Linked DNA regions of Homo sapiens: regions 1, 2, 4 and 5 are each linked to region 3. The links are contacts of gene promoters, found by promoter capture Hi-C in human tissues and cell types (Jung and others, 2019). All regions are on one chromosome and are shown on one strand. Each heading gives the region's core, a stretch centred on a gene start or on the middle of the fragment in contact. The rest is flanking DNA. Distances are from core to core; before and after follow the strand shown.

Region 1 (2,705 bases), core at 200-2,699, 580 kb after region 3:
TGAGAGAAGAGATGTATTCTGTCTCCTCTTTTTGTGGTCTGAGATGCCCTCACGGACCTGAGCACAGTAAATATGAAGTAAATGCGTGTTAAGTAATTGATCCCTACTGGCTTGAGGTAGGGAAATTTCTGGGTAATTGCATGTTCTGTCTGATTAGTAGTTCAGTGTGTACTACACAGAGATTATCATTTTGCAAGATGGAGTACTGTAAAACACTCAACTATAAAACTATTATTAACATAATTTGACATTTGATATTTGAGGAGAGAATTCACTGTGGTCTCAGAGAACCTCAGTAAAGCTTTATCACCATGGAACTGTAATGTGCAGGTAGAACACTCAGGAGGCGACCTTGATTTGGTCCTCTGACACGGGGAGCGGGGGCTGGAAACGCGCATGCACTGACGACCTGGTGTGCAGTGGGCTCCACACCGTGCCCTTATCTACTGGAAGTTACATGTTTGAAGTTTCTGGTAACAAGCGTTTCAAATTTTCTTTCACTTTTCTCTTGCTTACACAAGTGGGGAATGGCTTTTCTGTGAGGGGGAAGATTAAAGGGAGAGTGGTGGGAGAGTTGGTGGGGGAATGTGAGACTGGTTTTGAACAGCCTGGTAAGAACTAAACACATGGACCGATGGTAATCGAGAGCAGAGACTCTGGAGCCTGCAGCCTGGGTGTGAAGGCTTTCTGCTACTTACTTTGTGGGATTGGATGAGTTACATAACTTCTCTGTGCCACATTTTTCTCATCTGTAAAGATGAGCATAAGACCAGCACCGGCATCACAGGCTTGGTGGGGGTATGAAGTGAGTGAGTTCATACAAAGCTCTTGATCCAGTGCTTTATGAGTGCTCAGCAGGCTATGTTGATTTTCGGAGAGACCCCTAAGCAATAAGGTAGAAACTAGGGAAAGGGATTTCCCTACCCTCAATCTTTGTTTGGTACCATTTGTTTCTTTTTCAGTTTCGGCTATTTCTGAAGCCTTGAGATGTGTGAGACCCTGAGTTAACTGTCTTGGTTTCTTAATAAGATAGACATATGAATGAAGTCTGAATCTAAATGTGGAGAATTTGGGGTTTCAGGGAGAGGTATTAGAGTAACCACTCAGCCTTGTAGAGGAAAAGAGTTTTAATCTGTTGGTGAAACAGATGGAACTAGCTTCCCATTCTGATAGGAGTTGGAGGAAAACAATCTGTGCAATTTGTCCCAGCAGTAGAGCAGGAAGGAGTGGTGTGCATATAATTTCCTCTCTCCCCTGGGATGCTGCCGCATGTCTCAACCTGTGGAACTGCTGATTATTTGAAAGCAAGCAGCCCTCCAAGTAGCTAAGCAATCCCGTAGAAAGGGGGAAGACAATATTTAGTAGATATGATTGTTGCCTGGAATTCTAAATGTTGTCACCACCTAGCACCACATACCAATGTCTGTGAGGGTGTCTAGCATTGAGGGAGAGGTCAAGGGATGAGAATTTGGGAGGAATTAATCCTGTGCCCATAAGAAACATTCACATGTAAGACAGGACAAACAGAATAGATAAAAGTTCCGAGAGAAGTGATGCATACCGACTACAAAAGAGAGGCCCAGGGAGTGGCATTTTGCTTTTATTTCTGAGCTGGTACAAACATTAAGAACTTGGGTGACAGACTCCCTTTCCCACAGAAGGCCTCCTCAAGCTAAGCAAGAAGGTAGCTCACCTGAACTCGTTCTGTTTGTCCCTCAGCCCTGGCTGCCCAGGCCTACGCTCTGAAAGAGGAGAATGACAGTCTCCGCTGGCAGCTGGATGCCTACAGGAATGAGGTGGAGCTGCTGAAACAAGAAAAAGAACAGCTTTTCCGAACAGAAGAAAACCTCACCAAGGACCAGCAACTGCAGTTTCTGCAGCAAACCATGCAAGGCATGCAGCAGGTACCTGGCCCAGATTTTTTTTTTTTTTTTGAGAGAAAGAGATATGTGTATTAAATGAAAATGGAAAGGCAGCCGTGTGCTGGAAAGGGTGAAGGAGAAGAAATGACAACCAAAAAGCTATGTTACTAGGACAGAAAAGTGCTAATGACTGTTTGTGGAAGGGTAGAATCTGGAGAAAAGCCAAGCCAATAAAATATGTTGAAGAAATCACCCTGGAGGTAGGAAATAAAGGAAAATGATTTGGATTTAGGAGATTGAAAGGCTGCATGTGAAATATAGCCCCATGGCAAATACCTAGCAGATCCCTGCATGATACAAGCATTTTGTAATCTTAGAACTTTTAACTTCAAAGCACGACAACTGATTTTACAAAAGCAGTTTGTTTGTCTGTCTTCAAGGTTAGTGTAAATGTAAATTATATTGTTTCCACTTTTTCTGTATTACACTTAGGATCTAGTCAGGTTCTTTGAGCACATTACGTGTTTAAGAAGTGTTTGTTGATGGAATACATGAAGCATCAGAGTTTTGGGGGATAAATAACTTTAGAAACAGGGCAATAGCTGTGTTTTTGTTGAAGAGTGCCAGACCTCATCCTGGCATACTGAATTTAAAGATGTATATTTATGGCAATTGTTAAAAAGGAAATGAAAGTTGAGGGCTTTGGAGTAGGGAAAAGGAACAGGTACTGTGGGATATAAAATGTCGACAGGAGGGGAAAATCTGACTGTTGGCAGTGAGGGAATAGAGTCAAAGATTCACAGTCAGATTTGTATCTGAAAACGTCAATTGGTACCTGATATT
Region 2 (2,837 bases), core at 10-2,509, 560 kb after region 3:
AACGTGAAGTAGAGCCTGAACTTTTAAAAAAAACTTTCACCAGTCTTGTTACTTGGTCAGCAGAATTAATGAGCAAAGTGCAGGGCATGTTGTATGCCAAGTTCTGAGGGAAGAGATGAAAGAACCGGAGTTCAAATGCCAGGCCCCGAGCAGTTCAAAGTCTTTTCGTGCTTTTCAAAACGAGATGGACCAGAGAATGTGGCATGTGGTTTCTGAAGAAAGCACAGGACTGATTAAAGGGAAAGGAAGGCAACTAACCTTTTTTATTCCACGGGGCCCTGAAGATCTGGCCCAAAGGCAGGCAGTTGTTTTTCTTTCAGCCCTGCATATTTGGGGACACAGCCTGACAGCAAGAATTCCCATCTGGTCTTTTGTTCAAACCTCAGACAAATCCCTGCTAACTGTTGCTTGAAGCAGGAGGATGGAGGCCATAGCCCGAGGGAAACACCTTCCAGCGGTATCTTCTTGGGTGACACATCCCTTGTTTTTAGGTACACATTTGCATCTGCCAGTCACCTACATAGGAGCAGTCCTCTCAAAATGTAGCACTCTAATTCACTAACAGGGGAATTGCCAGTGCTGTAATGGAAGTGAAATTCTCCATGCTGTAAGGAATCCCCTGCCAATTTCCTCTCTGCTTAAACAGTGGGATTTTGCTTCAGACCTCCTGGGTAGTAGCTGACCCAGGAATTCTTGGAAATTCCAGAAGAGAATATCCTTCAGTTGTCACCTGCCTGTGCCGGGAGGAGGTGCTGAGGCTGCACCCACTGCAGGGCGCTCTGTCTGTGGTCCCCCAGGGCCAGCTTTGCTTGTCATCTCCATACTAAGACAAAAAGTACCCTGTAATGGGTTTTATTTTGGGGGGCAGGGAAGAGATGGAAATAATTGACTTGTTTGGTTTTTAGGAAAGGCACAATTTATTGTGTAAGGACTTATATGATACCTTGGGTTTACTTTTTAAAAAATAATCAAAATGTTTCAATATATCTCTGCTTTTTGGTTATGAAGAATATTTCATTGTACTTTTCTTTTTACCATATATAATAATTTGCAATATGTCTTTGGCTATAATTCTGCAGTATCTACAATAGAATTCTGGGTGGGGTGTTCACTCTTCTTGATCAGTTGAATCTTAAAGGGGAAAAGGAGTTCACTGGAGCAAAACTAAGATGCTGATAAAAATGAAAATCAATTTTGTTAATAAATTCAAAAATAATGACAGATTTATTGAAGCATTCATTCTAGAAGATCGGCATCCTGCTCTGAAGCCTGTGAAGATAATTTTTGATAAAAATTCAAATTTATTGTTGTTTAGTCTGCCTCCTACTGAAATGAAGCCAGACTTTAAAATCCAGATCTGTTCTTCCTTTTTCTCTTTCTCTCTCTCTTCCTCCCTCCCTCTCTCTCCCTCTCTCCTTCTCCCTTACCCTTTTCCACTCCCTTCCTCCCTCTCTCCCTCCAGGTTGACTCTGTGGGGCGGGATAGCGTTCGCAAGAAATAAAAAGGAGAAAGGAAAGAGGAAGGCTGTCCTAGATTGTAAGGCCTCAGATGGCAAAACCCGATACGTTTTAGTATTGTGAGAGTTAATAAGTCAATGCATGCAAGGCACTTCTGACTTTACTTACAGTGTTGAGCATCTAGTAAGTACTCAATAAATGTTAACTCTGCTTGTTATCTTAGTCATCCTCCAACACGTGGCCCTGGGCCTTTCCCCAAGTACGTAATCAATAAAAGTCTGTGGACTTCAATTCATATTCCCCTTCTTCTGATCTTAATGTTTTCGATGCCTTTGTCCCAGAAGTTGATAGGAGGATGATAACCCTGAGAACATTTGCTCTAATTAAATTGAAATGGCAAGTATTAAAGAGGCATGTTCAAACAAAATGTTCAGAACTTTATACGTACAAAATTCAGTGTCACATGGCGAACAGGCCATGGCCCAGAGAGCTTTAACCCAGCACTGTTTTGATTATCTACATTTTGTATGTCCAAGGTGCTGTGGACCCAGGGCACACAGAGTTAGTTAGATACAGGGTACCCAGTTCTCTAGGGTGTAAGACTCATTTGAAAAAAGTGTTTTCAGTTAAAAATATTAGGGATGTCCTAAAGCTGGTAAATTAAATTTATTATAAACCAAAATGAACATCACTACATAGTGTATGTACCTCACCCAATATTTGATGAGTGTACTTTGAACACAAATGTTAGAAGAGTAAAACTAAAAAGTCCCTTGCTCAGTAGACAATCATTATGCCTTTCCATAATACACAAACAAATGTTTTTGGATTTTAACTGCATTTCATTTAAACTCTGAGCTCCTTATAGGAGCAGACACTCTAAATTATGAAGAGTGTTTTTCTGAGCTGTCAATTTTTCATGAAAATTCACCATAACATAGGTACAAAGGAATTTTTTTTTTTTTTGAGACGGAGTCTTGCTCTGTCACCCAGGCTGGAGTGCAGTGGCATGATCTTGGCTCACTGCGAGCTCTGCCTCCCGGGTTCACGCCATTCTCCTGCCTCAGCCTCCCGAGTAGCTAGGACTACAGGCACCCGCCACCACGCCTGGCTAATTTTTTGTATTTTTAGTAGAGACGGGGTTTCACCGTGTTAGCCAGGATGGTCTCGATCTCCTGACTTAGTGAGCCGCTCACCTCGGCCTCCCAAAGTGTTGGGATTACAGGCATGAGCCACCACGCCTGGCCCGGAATTTTTTTTTTTTAATTTCACTAAGAATTCAAACAAGGACTTTCCAAATCTTTCAGCCACTAAATCAAATTAGGAACTCATAATTAGGTTTGGTTGGAACTAGCAGTATCAGCCTATCTGAATAGTTAT
Region 3 (2,905 bases), core at 183-2,682:
TTCACAATTATCTTGTTCTCCATCCCTTTCATAGCTGATGTTACTGCAACACATTATACAGAGAAACTTGGCCTTGGCAGCATGGTGGTATTGGACAGCATTCAAAGTCTTCAGTAATGTCTGATGGCAGTTTTTTTGAGAGTTCAATTTCAAACCAAAAAGATCAATCAAAACAGCTTCTGCCATCCTTGAAAGAATACTTTTATGCCAAATAAATCACCTGCAAATAAAAATTAGTGTAAGAATATAAGATTATATAAATCTTATAGTTACAACAGAAATTTGTGGTAGATTAAAAACGAAGTAATTACACTGATTTTAAAATGTAACTAAAATAGTAAATCTAGGCCCCTCCCAGAAAAGCCAGTCTACTCTGTCACAACAGAACCATGACAGTGAAAGCAAAGCCATCTTTTAATTCGTTTTGTGAAAATGCTGGTACATCTTTCCAGCAGCACGACAGTTCCTCTGTTTTGTTTACACAGAACTTTTGAGTAAGGAATTACTTGTGGAGTTTAGACAAAGTCCTGTTTTTAAATTGCAGAGTGTCAACCTGTGTGATATATCATTAGTCCTGACATGATTGTCATATTAGGTCTCATCCTTTCATATGCGGGGGCTTAAGTTTACGAAGCTAAATGGAGCTGCACGCGAAATTCGCGTTTTAAGATGATAAAAGCTGAGATGGCTAATAGAGTTCCCTTCAGGATTTGCGCAGTACTCCACACTTAGCAATGACCACAAAAGCTATAGTGATTTGGATGAGACAGGCTTCCTCTCAACTTTCTTAATTCATTCTCCCCGTGCAGCTTTGCTCACCTCCAGCCCAGCCCTCCCACCCCAACCTGCGGGGCTCCGGTGACCCCCTTTGGTGACGCCCTTTGCCCCAAGAAGGTTTTCTCCTGCCGCTTCCCCTAACCTTTGCTCCCCATCTCTCGGGGCTCCCTCTGAGGTTCATTTAGCCAGTTTTGAGTGGGTGACCGTCCCCCCTTCCCTGTTCATTGTGAATTTCCGCCCAACGTGTGTCGCCGCCAGGTCCCTGTTCCTCCTACCCGCCTCGGCTCACGGGGCGCAGGCTGTGGCTCTGCACCTGCCCGGGCACCTCCACCGGCGGCTCACAGCCCATTCGGGACTTCCTGTCGGACAACGCACACCAGAGGCGATTCGGTCCTCGCCTTCCCGCTCTTCACCTTCGGTTGCACACCGGTCTACGGCGACCTCTGTGACAATTTGCCGCCCCGTCCCTCGTCCTGAGCCTCAACGAAATTGGGCAGCCGCGAGCGGGTCAGCTGGAGTCGTAAGCTCGGCCCAGCGCGACGACACCCGCCCCGCCTCACCTCGCCCACCTCGCCCACCTCGCCCCGCCTCGCCTCGCCCCGCCTCGCCCCGCCTCACCTCGCCCCCCTCGCCCACCTCGCCCCGCCTCACCTCACCTACCTCGCCGCGGCCGCACAGATTCCCCGCCTGATACCGTCCCAGGATCCCAGGGGAAACCTGACGGCCAGGTTCCCTCGTGCCAGCTGCCGGGAGGCGGGAGGGAGGTAGGCCAGGGCCGCCTGGCGTGCTTGGTGCGAACGCGGCGGGCCCAGCGCGAGAGCTGGGGAATCCCGGGATGAGCCAAGCGCCGCGAGCCCGCTGCTGCCTCAGCAGTTCCGGGTCTGGGCGGTCCGCGGAGTCGGCATCCCGCAGCCCCGGCGGCGTTAGAGGAACAGGAACCAGAGCCGCGCGAGGGCTCTCGCCCGGGAGCCAGGCGGGTTAGCGGGCAGGAGTGGGCAGGCCGAGTCCGGAAAGGGTCGCGAGGAGGCAGCTAGGGGCCCCTTGAGGAGGGATAGGGCGGCGGAACGACGGGCCCTGGGAGCGGGCGCAGGGCGGCAGGAGCTGCAGGTCTCCAGAGGGCACGGGGCGGGGAACTAGGGGCCCGGTTAGAAAGCCGGGCGGCGGGAACGGCGGGCACCGTGAGGGGGCGGCGGGAATGGTGGGTCGCGTGAGGCCGGGCTGCTGGAGCGACCTCGGGACTAAACCGCAGTCTCCCTTCTGCTAATGGAAGCCGTTTCCCAAGCGAGCTGAAGTCCGCGTTTCCGGTCTCTGAGGGACGCCTCGCTGACCCAGCAGTGTGGTCAGGACGCTGGGTTTCCTCACCGCAGCCCAGGGCCAGTCCCTTGTCATGCTAGCTCTTGGCAGCTTTTCCCATGCAGGGCTCAAGTCAGGGGCCCCCTCGAGATGTTTTAGTGTTTTTTTGTTGTTCATTTGTTTCCAGAAACAAGCTGTTGTCTCTCCTCCAATGTCTTTGTGCTGATTCTTGCTGACCAACACTCTTCCGAGCGCCTTCACTTGTGTTGACAACACGGATGTCCTCTATGGCCTTTTAAAATATGTGCCACTAGCAGGACTTAAGTAAAAGGCGCTCATCCCTAAAATCATGATAAAGGTGCAGTTTAGCATCCCTGATCTGTCCTCCAAGAATATAACGTTCATTTATTTGAAAATAGCAGTTAGGACATGGAAGGCCAGTGTATGGTAAAGGGAAAAAATATCCGACCTTCCAAGAGTAAGAGAAATGGTGCTTCCTGGGGAACTGGTTATGATGGAAGGAGAGGTCCCTTTTATCTTCATTGTTGCTCATTTGGTAGGCGCTAAAGAACCTTTGTCTCATAATCTCAGATAGCTGGGAATTTGGAAGAGCCCTCTGGGGTAGGCATGTTCTTGTGCTTGACTAGAGACTGGGAGCACTAACCCAGAATGGAAACCCACCCTTCAATAACCCTAGCACCAGTTATGTCAAAATTCATGTTTTCTTTGGTCATTTGTTAAAGAGCCCCGAGCGGTAGATGGTACACCCAATCAGAAGGTGCACTCTGCCCTGAGTTTGTTTATGTTAAATATCATTAGATTGGTGCAAAGGTAA
Region 4 (3,064 bases), core at 340-2,839, 740 kb after region 3:
GAACATAAAGATAAAAAATGTTTAAATGCTATAATCCCCATTTAGAGACTTCCTCAGCGTTTGGGCTTCAGGTGGGCAGATCTGAAATCCATCAAGTCCTCTCAGCCAATGTCTGTCCCTGAGGATCAACCATCAGCTTCATAGCTCTTTCATCCCTGAAGGGGCAGAGTACATGTGGGATCACATGTTTACTCCTGGTAGCAGAATCATGGCAAAGTTTGCTTCTCTACTTCCTGGAAGGGGTTTTGTGAGAACCTGTGCTCCTCTCAAAAGTAGGTTGACTTTTCTAAGAAGCTTTTGTGAGAAGGTAGGATCAAAGCCACTCTGTCATCTTTTACCCTCTCTCATTGACAACCCTCTTTCTCTTGAGTCTCCAAGAGACACCCTATATCACTGTGATAAAAAAAAACATTGACCTTGAGATCCCAGGTGCAGGAATTTGGCTACCCATTGGGTTCATTTACCTCTATACCCTTCTACCAAATTATAGGAAGAACCATTGAGAAGACCAACTTGGATTTGTGCAAATATAGTCATCATGGCAACCATACTTGTTCAGTCATTCAACCATGGAAGAACTTTCTGTTAATATTGGTATGGACCAGCCAGATGAGTCCTCAATGAGGACAGGCCAATACAAAATTCGGTGTAAAAAACATAGGTAAGAACGCAGAAGACCGGCATCACAATGAAACATGGTGACAGGACAGCATCCTTGAAGCTCCCTAAACAAATGGGAAAAGAGATTTCAAAACAGTAATAACCACGAGCAGATATTTATAGAGCTTGTGTGCTAAACGATAGTCTAGTCCCTGCAGCTAGAGAGGAGCACACTTGGTAGAAAAACAATTTTGCCGCTGCCCTGGAGGACCTTGTGGATTAATGAGGACACAGAAAGGTGGATGTGTTTTTACAGCCCCACAGGGAGGTTCTACAACACACAGGTGGGAAGAAAGTCATCTGAGAGCAGAGGGAGGTACCCGGCTTTTTTCAGAGCAACCAGGGACAGTTTCTCAGAGGATGTTCATCACTCAGGAATCTAAAAGGACAAGCTAGGATGACAAGCCAGCAGTGTTTGCAATGTCTTGGGCTCATTGAGCAGACAGTAGTGTTAGATGTCAAACAGACCTGGGTTTCGACCATAGCAGACTCACTGCGGGACGCACGGCCCTGAGCAAATTACTTAGCCTGGGTGAGCCTCCATTTCTGAATCTGTAAAATGGGAATAGTAATAAATATCAATCTCAGAGAATCATTAGAAGCATAAAACACCACAAGACATACAAACTGCTCGCTCTCATGCCCAGTACATTTGAGGCTTTCGATAAAAAATGACTTTTTTTAGTTTTCATATTTTGTGCTTCAGTTATTAAAACTGAATGATGGACCACATTTAAGAGAGAGAGTCCCAAAAGAGAGAGGATTGTTGTGGTTTCTGCCTTCCACCCCCACAACTTTGCACTAAAAAAGAAAAAAGAAAAAAAGAATGTAATGCGGCAGCTCCCCAAGGCATTACATTAGTGAAAAAAAAGAACTTGCTGGTTTTCCCTTTGAGCCCGACAGGCTTTGAGAGAAATCTGAAGAGTCATCCCTATGAAAGTGAAGGCTGACAACACTACCCCATTTCAGCATGCCTGCTTGGTTTACAGACAGCTGCCTGTGCGATCAATACTGCAGGGCTCAAGGTAGCAGGCTGTGTTCCAGCCCACCCCACACATCAGGGCTGCTTATTGATTCCAGCTGCTGCTGGAAAAAGCCAGGGCTCCTATTCCTCGATTTTGAGAGGCAGAATTGGGGATCTGGGGCTGACTCTTGAGAAAACTGGGGGCCCAGATATTCTCACAGGTAACTCATAAACTTGGGTCATCAGAGAGCTGAGTCAGCACCCAAAGGCGGCCGAGAAATTGGCTCTCTGGTGGCGGAACTCTCCAGGCTAGTTAGTGTAACAGGAGGGAGCTCTGCCCTGGAGTTCACAGCACTGGTAAGTAGCATTTATTCAGCATCACATACTGATGGCCAGACTTAGCAAATAAAAATACAGCATGTCCAGTTAAATTTGAATTTCAAATGAGTGATGAATTTTTTTTAGCATAACTACATCCCAAATATTGCAAGATGTAATTATACTTAAAAATTGCACATTGTTTGGCTGGGTGCGGTGGCTCATGCCTGTAATCCCAGCACTTTGGGAGGCTGAGGTGGGCGGATCACTTGAAGTCAAGAGTTCAAGACCAGCCTGGCCAACATGGTGAAACCCCATCTCTACTAAAAATGCAAAAATTAGCTGGGTGTGGTGGCATGCACCTGTAGTCCCAGCTGCTCAGGAGGCTGAGGCAAGAGAATCGCTTGAACCCAGGAGGTGGAGGTTGCAGTGAGCCGAGATCGTGCCACTGCACTCCAGCCTGGGTGACAGAGAGAGACCTTGTCTCAAAAAAATAAAATAAAATAAATAAAATAAACTGTACATAGTTTATGTGAAATTTAAATTTACCTGGGCATCCTGTATTTATGTGCCAAATATTTCATAGGACATTCTTTTTTTTTTTTTTTTTTTTTGAGACTGAGTTTCACTCTTGTTGCCCAGGCTGGAGTGCGATGGCGCGATCTTGGCTCACTGCAACCTCCACCTTCTGGGTTCAAGCGATTCTCCTGCCTCAGCCTCCCTACCAGCTGGGACTATAGGCTCCCGCTACCATGCCCAGCTAATTCTTTGTATTTTTTAGTAGAGTTGGGGTTTTACCATGTTGGCCAGGCTGGTCTCGAACTCCCAACCTCAAGCGATCCACCCGCCTCAGCCTCCCAAAGTGCTGGGATTACAGGCATGAGCCACTGTGCCTGGCTTCATAGGACATTCTTTTTTCTTTTTTTTGAGTCGGAGTTTCGCTCTTGTCACCCAGGCTGGAGTGCAGTGGCGCAATCTAAGCTCACTGCAACCTCCACCTCCTAGGTTCAAGCAATTCTCCTGCCTCAGCCTCCCAAGTAGCTGGGATTACAGGCACCCGCCATTACGCCTGGCTAATTTTTGTCTTTTTAGTAGAGACGGGGTTTCACCACGTTGACCAGG
Region 5 (2,889 bases), core at 172-2,671, 1.0 Mb after region 3:
ACACACACACACACAGAGAGAGGGAGAGGGAGAGAGAGAGAGAGAGAGAGACTAGTGTGGTTGTTGCTTGGAAGTGGGAGACAAGATATAGGAGAGGAGAAACACCCTGGAAGAGAGCTTCTCTCAATGTTTTGGAATTTGTCCCAGTTAATTGGCCAACCCCAGGTGTGATAATCAAGGATAGAAAGATTCTTGGGATAAGGATATCATATTAAGCTAATCAGTTATGAATAAACCTAAACCCCGCCAACAGCAGCTGCTGATGCAAACCAAAGGGCTGGCTTTGCCCCTTTACAGGCAATGCCTGTCCTTTAATCCCTGCAGATGGTTAGCAATGCCATGAGCCATAGCATTTTGGAAAAGAAAGGGGAACCACGGGATTTCTGGAAGATATGAGAATGTAGCTCTGCCATTCACTAATGTTGAAACCTTGGACAAATCTCTTATCTCCACCTTACCTCACAGGATAGGTTGTAGACAAACTGATGGGATAAATGCTCTTAAAAGGTAAATGGGAATGCAAGGTAGGAGAGTAGCAAGGGAAATACTATATTAGTTTTAAATGAAAAGATACTTTCTCAACTCCTTTCTTTATTACTAAAAATGTTGGTCCTTCTTTCTTCCTACCTTATCACCATTTTCTAGATCACCTGGCCATGTATACTTACAGGCCTCAACAGTCTTCCTTCCTTCTCATAATTATCCCTGCATAATTCATTGGCAGGGATTATCAATTCTACCACCACAATATCTTTAGCAACTTTCCCTTTTATTTCAGGCTCACTACCATCCTCTTTAATTGGTTTCTTGTGATGTTTTACAGAGACTATTGTCAGAAAAAACCATTGGATCTTTTTGCCTCCTGCACTTCACTTCTATGGTATAAAGGAATCTTTTGAGGAAGTGCGTGTGTCGTTTTAAGGTTTGTGCTAGCCAAGCAGGGAGGAGGCTTGGAATGCTAAGACAGGTACTCAACAATTGGAGAAGGCAGGTTTTAATGAATTCAAGAAAAGATTGTTTTAATTCTATTTCTCAAGAGGAAACTCAAAAGAATTGGTAAGCTTTCAAAATTATAATTCTATCTTTGCAATCACACATGTTGTTCATGCTGCAGACAAAAGGAAAAGACATTCGGAGCCAAGGTGGCTGCACACTCCCACTGAGAAACTCGGATTTTAAAAAGATGTGCCAAAAAGTGGAAAGAGGCACGCTGCCAAAGATTGTGTTGAAGAAAGGCAGGGACCAGTAACAGATCAGAAGGGCCAAAGACCAGAGTGAGCTGAGGCTTAGAGAAAAGAAAGTAAGGATAATGGAGGGCTCTTAAATTTAGAGCAAGAATAAGGAAGGAAGAGGCTCGCTGCCTGAGGCCAGTGGTGTGATGTTGATGGATGACATGAAGAAAACAGAACTCCTTTCCTCCCATTTAGTCCTGTCTTCTCTGTCAAGGAGAGTGATCTTTGGACTGAAAAGGGTAGAACGAACATTGTTAAGAGAAAATTGAAGCCCAAGATGGGTGTAGAGATTATGCGAGAGCATGCATCCGCTGTAAATGAGCCGAAATGTCTGGATCTGAATGAATTACAGTGCAGAGCTCTGAAAAACGTGCGAATGAATTCTCCCTACTTAAGAGGAGGGAGCTTTGGAGGTGGAGGAGGAGAGAAAAGTGAAACCTCCCTTGCAAAAATTGTAACAGTGAGAAAATTATGGCAGTGAAAGAGATCTGATTTAACCAACCCCCATCTTGCCTTTAGCCTTCAAACTGCCCTTAATTATCCCTTGGCTTGGGTCTACCTAGCTTTGGGAGACATTTAGTTTATAGGTTAAATTGCCGGGCACGGTGGCTCACGCCTGTAATCCCAGCACTTTGGGAGGACGAGGTGGGCGGATCCCGAGGTCAGGAGATGGAGACCATCCTGGCTAACACGGTGAAACGCTGACTCTACTAAAAATACCAAAAATTAGCCGGGCGTGGTGCTGGGCGCCTGTAGTCCCAGCTACTCAGGAGGCTGAGGCAGGAGAATGGCGTGAACCCGGAAGGCAGAGGTTGCAGTGAGCCAAAATCACGCCACTGCACTCCAGCCTGGGCGACAGATGGAGACTGTCTCAAAAAAAATAAATACATAAAAAATAAAGAAATAAAAATAAATGATAATACCCTCCTCGCAAGCTTAACCACCTTTGCAAAGCTAATGAGAAACCACCAGACTAGTAGGAGGATAGGAGCCTGAATTCTGCTAAGGTGTAGGCATAAACGATGGCCAGCCATTATTCCGGAGGTCACAAGATATGCTACTTCCCAATTACTCCTGCAGACAACATCACTATTTTAGAACCTAAGATTGGCTTTTGAGATGTCTTTTCAAGTTTTTTGTATGTCTGACACTGATGGCTCCACCTGGACCCACTAGTTGCTCCTGTGACCCCACCCAGAAGTGACTCAGTGCATGAGGACCATTTCCCACACTTTTATGATTGTACCCCCACCAATCAGCAGCAAGCACCCATTGCCTAGCTGTGCCCCCGTCTCTTTATCCTTGAAAAACCCTAGCCTTCGAATTTTTGAGGAGACCAATTTGAGTAATAATAAATTCCTGTGTCCTGTTTAGCTGGCTCTATGTGTGTAAAATTCTTTCTCTATTGCAATTCCCCTGCCTTCATAAATTAGCTCTATCTGGGCAGTGGACAAGAAAAACCCACTGGGTGGTTATAAAAGCAGGCCAACTGGAGACAAGCCAAGTCCGTGACCTAGGAACTGTAGAATCCAGTTTTGGAAAGCACCCTAGGTATCTATTTTAACCATTACCCAATGCATAACTAAATGTACATGTAGAGATGGTTTATGAAGAGTCAATAACTATTATGATAGGCCCAGCTTATCTGTCTGTTATT

The links. The method cuts DNA at HindIII sites, captures the fragments that hold promoters and counts their contacts. A contact is called where the count stands out against the background at its distance.
Region 1: a fragment that was not itself captured here is called in contact with the fragment with the promoter of CCDC122 in region 3 in 1 of the 25 tissues and cell types used here (stomach).
Region 2: a contact is called between a fragment that was not itself captured here and the fragment with the promoter of CCDC122 in region 3, in 1 of the 25 tissues and cell types used here (dorsolateral prefrontal cortex).
Region 4: a contact is called between a fragment that was not itself captured here and the fragment with the promoter of CCDC122 in region 3, in 2 of the 25 tissues and cell types used here (dorsolateral prefrontal cortex and lymphoblastoid cells).
Region 5: a fragment that was not itself captured here is called in contact with the fragment with the promoter of CCDC122 in region 3 in 1 of the 25 tissues and cell types used here (dorsolateral prefrontal cortex).

Annotation. Positions count from the first base shown.
Region 1 is chr13:43,297,545-43,300,249 of GRCh38, reverse strand. It overlaps ENOX1 (ecto-NOX disulfide-thiol exchanger 1), which reads left to right. Exons shown (of 17, transcript NM_001347969.2): 12 at 1,720-1,904. Among named protein-coding and RNA genes, the nearest start is that of ENOX1-AS2, 150 kb to the left of the region's middle. The HindIII fragment of the contact is 4,025 bases long and covers 1-2,705 here.
Region 2 is chr13:43,317,591-43,320,427 of GRCh38, reverse strand. All of the region lies in intron 11 of ENOX1 (ecto-NOX disulfide-thiol exchanger 1), which reads left to right. Among named protein-coding and RNA genes, the nearest start is that of ENOX1-AS2, 130 kb to the left of the region's middle. The HindIII fragment of the contact is 4,463 bases long and covers 1-2,837 here.
Region 3 is chr13:43,878,267-43,881,171 of GRCh38, reverse strand. It overlaps CCDC122 (coiled-coil domain containing 122), which reads left to right and starts at 1,432. Exons shown (of 7, transcript NM_144974.5): 1 at 1,432-1,541. LACC1 (laccase domain containing 1) reads right to left here and starts at 1,268. Exons shown (of 7, transcript NM_153218.4): 1 at 1,053-1,268; 2 at 1-220. The coding sequence starts at 186. RefSeq lists a silencer at 1,381-1,530. The HindIII fragment of the contact is 6,836 bases long and covers 1-2,905 here.
Region 4 is chr13:43,135,970-43,139,033 of GRCh38, reverse strand. All of the region lies in intron 1 of LINC00400 (long intergenic non-protein coding RNA 400), which reads right to left. Among named protein-coding and RNA genes, the nearest start is that of LINC00400, 24 kb to the right of the region's middle. The HindIII fragment of the contact is 5,587 bases long and covers 1-3,064 here.
Region 5 is chr13:42,878,734-42,881,622 of GRCh38, reverse strand. No RefSeq gene overlaps it. Among named protein-coding and RNA genes, the nearest start is that of LINC00428, 7.4 kb to the right of the region's middle. The HindIII fragment of the contact is 3,282 bases long and covers 1-2,889 here.